Regions from separate parts of the Homo sapiens genome. Here region 1 is linked to region 2. The links are contacts of gene promoters, found by promoter capture Hi-C in blood cells and fetal thymus (Javierre and others, 2016). All regions are on one chromosome and are shown on one strand. Each heading gives the region's core, a stretch centred on a gene start or on the middle of the fragment in contact. The rest is flanking DNA. Distances are from core to core; before and after follow the strand shown.

Evidence for each region. The method cuts DNA at HindIII sites, captures the fragments that hold promoters and counts their contacts. A CHiCAGO score of 5 or more calls a contact.
Region 1: the fragment with the promoter of SARS2 here is called in contact with the fragment with the promoter of ACTN4 in region 2 in 1 of 17 cell types (naive CD4 T cells); the score reaches 5.1 in naive CD4 T cells.

Annotation. Positions count from the first base shown.
Region 1 is chr19:38,929,048-38,932,657 of GRCh38, reverse strand. It overlaps SARS2 (seryl-tRNA synthetase 2, mitochondrial), which reads left to right and starts at 1,895. Exons shown (of 16, transcript NM_017827.4): 1 at 1,895-2,188. The coding sequence starts at 1,922. MRPS12 (mitochondrial ribosomal protein S12) reads right to left here and starts at 1,714. Exons shown (of 3, transcript NM_033362.4): 1 at 1,660-1,714; 2 at 1,315-1,382; 3 at 1-325. The coding sequence starts at 1,363. RefSeq lists an enhancer at 1,811-2,270. The HindIII fragment of the contact is 9,584 bases long and covers 1-3,610 here.
Region 2 is chr19:38,645,763-38,649,154 of GRCh38, reverse strand. It overlaps ACTN4 (actinin alpha 4), which reads right to left and starts at 1,506. Exons shown (of 21, transcript NM_004924.6): 1 at 1,248-1,506. The coding sequence starts at 1,409. RefSeq lists silencers at 1,167-1,246, 1,477-1,666. The HindIII fragment of the contact is 8,558 bases long and covers 1-3,392 here.

The DNA of each region.
Region 1 (3,610 bases), core at 646-3,145, 280 kb before region 2:
ACGGTGAGCTTGACGCCTGGCAGGTCCTGGGTGCGGCCGCCCTCCACAAGGACAATCTGGTGCTCCTGCAGGGTGTGGCCCTCCCCAGGGATGAAGCAGACGGCCTCGCGGCCAGTGCTGAGCCGCACTCGACAGCACTTGCGATTGGCTGAGTTGGGCTTCTTCGGCTTGCGGGTAAACGTGCACAGGACCACACCCTTCAGCTGCGGCCGGCCTTCCGTGGGGCCCAGCTTCCGAGGCGGCCGCTTGGGGGGCCCCAGGCGGTGCATCTGGTTCAGGGTAGCCATGGAGCAGGTAGCCCAGAGCCGGGGAACCAGAGCTGGGCCTGGAGAGGGCCGAAAGGGGTTATTATCCCAGAGAACAGATCTTAGAGTAGTAGCAACTCAATTTTGGTGTTTTAGGCATTGTTTAAAGCACTTTACAAAGATGCATTTGTTCACATCTAATGTTATCTACAGACAAAAGTAACTCTTTATTCTTCAAGGAAGCATTACCTTTTTTTTTTTTTTCTTTTTTTTTTTTGAGACAAAGTCTCACTCTGTCGCCCAGGCTGGAGTGCAGTACCTCAATCTTGGCCCACTGCAACCTCTGCCTCCTGGGTTCAAGCAATTCTCCTGTCTCAGCCTCCTGAGCAGCTGGGACTACAGGCACCCACCACCACGCTCGGCTAATCTTCGTATTTTTAAGTAGAGACGGGGTTTCACCATGTTGGTCAGGCTGGTCTCGAACTCCTGACCTCGGCCTCTCAAAGTGCTGGGATTACAGGCGTGAGCCACCACGGCTGGCCAGGAAGCATTATTTTTAATGCTGTTTAAAATAATAGTAGGCTCAGTGGCTCATGCATGTAATCCTAGCACTTTTGGAGGCTGTGGAGGGTCACTTGAGCTCAGGAGTTAAGGCCAGACTGGGCGACACAGGGAGACCTCCCTCTCTACAAAGAATCAAAAAGTTAGCTGGTTGTGGTTCTGCAGGCCTGTGGTCCCAGCTACTTGGGAGGCTGAGGCGGGAGGATCACTTGAGCCCAGGAGGTCGAGACTGCAGTGAGCTGTGATCACACCGCTGCACTTCAGCCTGGGCGACAGAGGGAGATCTTAAATAAATAAATAATAAAACTGACCCAAACGCCGCTTGACACGCAGTAGCCCTCCATGCAGCTGCTTCCCACCTCTTGCTCTAGCAGCCCTAGCTCTGCCAAAACCCCACCGTGTTTTTCCACCCCCGTTTCCCTCGGGGCTCCGACGGAGGCACACAAGTCCAAGAGCGAATAACCCTCCCCCTCTAGCCTCGTCCCTGAAGCCCAAGTCCCCCACTTACCACAAGTTAGGGACGTGTTGAGGCCATGGAGAAGGCCAGACCAGGACATCCTGCCACCTGGGCCGTCCCTGTGGTAGGGGATAAGAGACTCAGAAAGGAGGAAAAAGTGACCGATCCGCAAATGCTCCCCGATCCGCTCTCAGGACTTTCTGGCTTAAATCAAAGGAAATACCTCTATAGGTCTAACCACAGGCCCTCATGCTGCTAACAGAAAGTCCCTCCGTAAATTTAGCCTCGCTCTGAGTGGGTTCCCGAGGGCCCAACCACTCTCGCCCGCACGCAGGAAGAACTGGGAAACTGGGGAGATGGCCTGGTAGATTTGGAGGACCCCAGGATTCCACCGACCTCACAGGACCTAAAGGTGAGGTCGCGGACACGCTGAATCCAGCTTCTAGCCTCTTCCGGGCGCTATCCGTGCAGGGATTGGCTGGTTCTGCCTCGCGTCACTGAAGAGGCGGGACACAGACGACGATTGGGCGACGAAGGACTCTATCGCGGTCAACTTTCCTCAGGATCTGATTGGCTCGTCACGGTCAGGTTCGCTGCCTTGCAATTGGTCTAAACGCGGAGTGGGCGGGACGAAGTGCCGCCTTGTTCCCGGTCCAAGATGGCTGCGTCCATGGCGCGGCGCTTGTGGCCTTTGCTGACTCGTCGGGGGTTCCGGCCCCGGGGAGGCTGCATCTCCAACGATAGTCCAAGGAGAAGTTTCACTACAGAGAAACGAAACCGGAACCTCCTGTACGAGTATGCGCGCGAGGGCTACAGCGCACTCCCTCAGCTGGACATAGAGCGGTTCTGCGCATGCCCAGAAGAGGCCGCACACGCCCTGGAGCTCCGCAAGGGGGAGCTGCGCTCGGCGGACCTGCCCGCGATCGTGAGTGCGCCTGCGCCGGCCGGGGGGCGCAGACGTTTGCTTTACGGAAGAATTGGGTTTGCAAGATGCCCTCCGGCAGGGGGCGAACCTGTAGTAGGAATTTTAGTTATTTCCCAAGTTAGCCAACGTCTTGTGCATGGCACCCACTTATGTGCCAGTTGTCCAGTGAGTGCTGAGGCCCTACTATGTGCCAAGAATGCCTACTGTGTCCTGGACACCCATTATGCGCTTGTTTCATACTGCTCGCTGGGTACCTCCTGTCCTTTAGGAACTTGCTATGTGACATTGCCCTCCGTGCTGCAACCTCATGCCAGCCTTTCCCTAAGACCACAAAGGAAAATGGGGAGCCAAGTGTGAATCGGACGGGGTCAGGGCTGGGGTGTGGTGGAGCTCTTGCGTTTAGAGAGAGAGGTAGGGAGAGTTGTGCACCTCCGCCACACATAGCAGGCAGTTAAATAGAGTTAATGAATGAATGAATGAATCCATTAATGAATGGTTCTATTAAACTGATACTTAAGGTGCAACTGCTATATTCCGGTGTTCTAGATGTTGCAAATATGCGGTGAATAATAATAAAATTGCTAGCACTTATAAAAGGGAATTAGGACCGGGTTCACAATATCTCTGTGTTGAGGTGCTAACGATAGTGGGGTCCCCACGTCTTCCCATTCCTCTCTTGGACTCCCCTCCCAGCCTGTTTGAAGTGCTTTATTCACTTTAACCTCGTTTAATTTTCACAGCAACTCTATGAAGTAGGTGCCATTATTTCTCCCATTTTATCAGAGGGGAAACTAAGGCTTCGAGAAGCTAATTCACTTGCGCTAGGTCATGCAACTGGGAAGTGGCAGAGTGGGAATTTTAACCTGTGCTTTCTGGCCTAGAATCCACTTTTTTTTTTTTTTTTTTTGAGATAGGGTGTTGTTCTGTCGCCCAGGATGGCAGGATGGAGTACAGTGGTACAATTATAGCTCACTGGAACCTTGAATTCCTGAGCTCAAATAATCCTCCCACTCAGCCTCCCGTGTAGCTGGGACTACAGGCAGACACCACCACGCCCGGCTAAACTTTTGTATTTTTTGTTGAGACAGGGACATACTATGTTGCCCAGGCTGGTCTTGAACTCCTGCGCCCAAGTGATCCTCCCACCCTGGCCTCCCAAAATGCTGAGATTACAGGCATGAGCCACCACACCCAGACTCCACAATCTTAAGTACCCTGCTGTGCCCTCTCATGATCTGAGTTCACAGTCTAGTAAAAGACATTTTTTTTTTGAGATGGAGTTTTGCTCTTGTCTCCCAGGCTGGAGTGCGCTGCGACTTCTGCCTCCCAGGTTGAAGTGATTCTCCCACCTCAGCCTCCCGAGTAGCTGGGATTACAGGCACATGCCACCACATCTGCATAATTTTTGTATTTTTAGTAGAG
Region 2 (3,392 bases), core at 257-2,756:
GTCTCTGCTTCAGGATCCCTTCACCTACCTCCGGTCTCTCCAAAAAAGACACAATTCTTCCTGGACACTCTCAACGCTTCCTCCCCAAACTCATTCTGCCTGCACGACACACACACGCTCTCCAGTCCCGGGACTGCACCTCCAGGAGCCAGCACCCCCTCCTCAAATTCCTTTCTCAGTCTATCCATTACGCATTCCCTTTCTAATGAGACTTTCATTTTCCTAAACGAACCTCTCTCCCATTATCCACCATTCCAGCTCACCCTCCCTCCCACCGATCTCACCTTCTCCCTCTACACTTCCTCATTCTCTCCAACGCTTTAGCTTTTCAGCTTCCCATCAATTCTTTAGAAATCCCTCCCCAAATTATCCCCACTCTCCGTATCCCCTCTACTTCGGCTTCTCCATCCCTCATCAATTCCTCTTATTATTCCTCCTATCTCTTAATCTTCTCCCCTTTGGAACAGGGCACCACAAATAAATCTCACCCCCTTCAAAAACGTCTGATTCACGGGCCCCTTAACTTCTTCCTTCCGCACCCCACCCTCCTCAGACCCCCAGTCCTGGCACCTCTACCCTCCTCACACCCTAAGCCCATGTCTTTTCATGCTCAATTCTACCCTTAGCCCCTGTTTTCATCTTCCCAGCCTCCCTAGTCTTCCCACCCGTCTTCAGACCCCACAATCTCCACTCCATCCTCACACTTGATTCTTCATCCCCTTTATAACTCCCCCAACCTGAGGCTCCCCCAATTCCAATCTCCTTCAGATCTTTCTGCTCTCCAAATAACCAACCCCTCCACACTCAAGCTCCTCCTCACACTTCCCAGACCCAGAAATTCCCTTCTCAGCCTCCCCTGATTCTCCTCCCAGCACCCCCAACCCATGCTCCGACCCTTCAAGCCCGCCTCGGATCCCAGTTCCATTTCAGCCTGCCCAGTCATCTCCTCGGTTTCCCCTAATGGCACGCCCAGACCCTCCAAATCCTTCATCAGCCTTCCCGATTCCTTTTATTTGACTCCCATATTCCCCACCCAGCCGCCAATTCTCTTTTCAGATTCCCAATTCCTTCCTCTAGCTCGGCGATTCCTCCTCAGGACTCCAATTCCCTTCCCGGACCCGCCAATTCCTTCTCGGGACCCCCCCGTTCCCATCACAGACGCTCCAGTTACCTTTCAGGACCTCCCACCCCTCCCCGGGCCCCCTCAGAAAAGCCCCTCCAGCCCGTCCGGCCCGCGGGCCGCGCACCTTGCGCTGCTGCTTCTCCCAGGCCGGGTCCAGCAGCAGGTCCCGGTCCCAGTCGTCCTCCTGGGCCATGTAGTCGCCCATGCTGCCCCCGCCGCCAGCGCCATTGCCCGCGCTGCTGGGGCCGTACTGGTACGACTGGTTCGCCGCGTGGTAGTCCACCATTCCGCCGCCTCTCGCTCGCCCACCAGCCTGTCCGCTCCCGCCTCAGCTCCCGCCCCTCTGCCCGAGCCGCCGCCGCTACCGCCGCTTCAGCTGCTTCAGCCCGCCCTCCGCCCGCGCCTGCGCACTGCCCGCCGCGCCTGCGCACAGCGCCGAGGTTGCCGCCCTCCCGCGCGCGCGCGCCTGCCAAACCAGAAAAGGCACCAAGGCCGCGCTCCGGAGCTTGGCGCCTGCGCAGAGTCCCGCTTCCTGGCCGCCCGACTCAGCCCGGGGGCGAGCCGCGCCCCCTCTCCGGCGTGAACGCGCGCGTCGTTCGCGTATGGGCGGGGCCAGATCATGAATGATTCATAAGGGCAGGCCCCGCCATCGGACCTGAACCAGCTCAGGCTTGGAATGCACTGCACCGGGTTCCCATTCAGCGACACAAATTCAACAAATATTTATTGAACACCTATTCTGTGCCAGACTATGTTTTACGCAGGCACTAAAAACAGAAAAAAATCCCAACTTTCATGAAACTACCTTCTAGTAAAGGAAGCCACATACACACAAATCTACTTTTATTTTTATTATTTTTTGAGACGGAGTCTCGCTCTGTCTCCCAGGCTGGAGTGCAGTGGCGCGATCTCGGCTCACTGCAACCTCCGCCTCCCGGATTCAAGCAATTCTCCTGCCTCAGCCTCCCGAGTAGCTGGGAACACAGGCATGCTCCACCACACCCGGCTAATTTTTGTATTTTTTTAGTAGAGACGGGGTTTCACCATGTTGGCCAGGCTGGTCTTGAACTCTTGAGCTCAAGCGATCCTCCCGCCTCAGCCTCCCAAAGTGCTGGAATTACAGGCGTGAGCCACCGCGCCCAACCAACACACAAATTTTTTTTTTTGAGACGGAGTTTCGCTCTTGTTGCCCAGGCTGGAGTGCAATGGCGTGATCTGGGCTCACTGCAACCTCCGCCTCCCAGGTTCAAGCTATTCTCCTGCCTCAGCCTCCCGAGTAGCTGGGATCACAGGCATGTGCCACCACTCCTGGCTAATTTTGTATTTTTAGTAGAGACGGGGTTTCTCCATGTTGGTCAGGCTGGTCTCAAACTCCCGACCTCAGGTGATCCGCCCACCTCGGCCTCCCAAAGTGCTGGGCTTACAGGCATGAGCCACTGCGCCTGGCCTCAACACTCAAAATTTTAAAAAATATGTAGACAGGCACAGGGGCTCACACCTGTAATCCCAGCACTTTGGGAAGCTGAGGCGGGAGGATGGCTTGAGCCCAAGAGTTCAAGGCCAGCCTAGGCAACATAACAAGAACCTGTCTCTACAAGAAATGTAAAAATTCACTGGGCATGGCTGTGTGCACCTGTAGTCCCAGCTACTCAGGAGGCTGAGGAAGGGACATCACTTGAGCCCAGGAGTTCCAGTCTGCAGTGAGCTGTGATCACACCAATGCACTCCAGAAGCGAAATCCTGTCTCAAAAATATACATAAAAGTAAAAAATAGGTAGTATTGTATATTCCAAGGTGTTGAGTATTTGGAGAAAAATCAAGCATGGGCTGGAATGCAAATAAACTACTCAGGTAGGCTTCATGGAGAAGGCAGACATTTAAACAAAGGTGCGAGCCACTGCATCAGGAAGCATCTTAAATTTAAATATTCAGCCAGGCACTGGTGGCTTACTCTTGCAATCCCAGCACTCTGGGGAGTCAAGGCTGGAAGAGTGCTTGAGCCCAAGAGTTTGAGGCCAGACTGGGTAACATAACAAGATCTCATCTCTACAAAAAAATGTTTACATTAAAAATAAATGGCCGGGCGCAGTGGCTCATGCCTGTAATCCCAGCACTTTGGGAGGCCGAGGCAGGCAGATCACGAGGTCAGGAGTTAGAGGCCAGCCTGGCCAACATGGTGAAACCCCGTCTCTACTAAAAATACAAAAATTAGCCGGGCTTGGTGGCATGCACCTGTAATCCCAGCTACCCAGGGGGCTGAGGTAGGGGA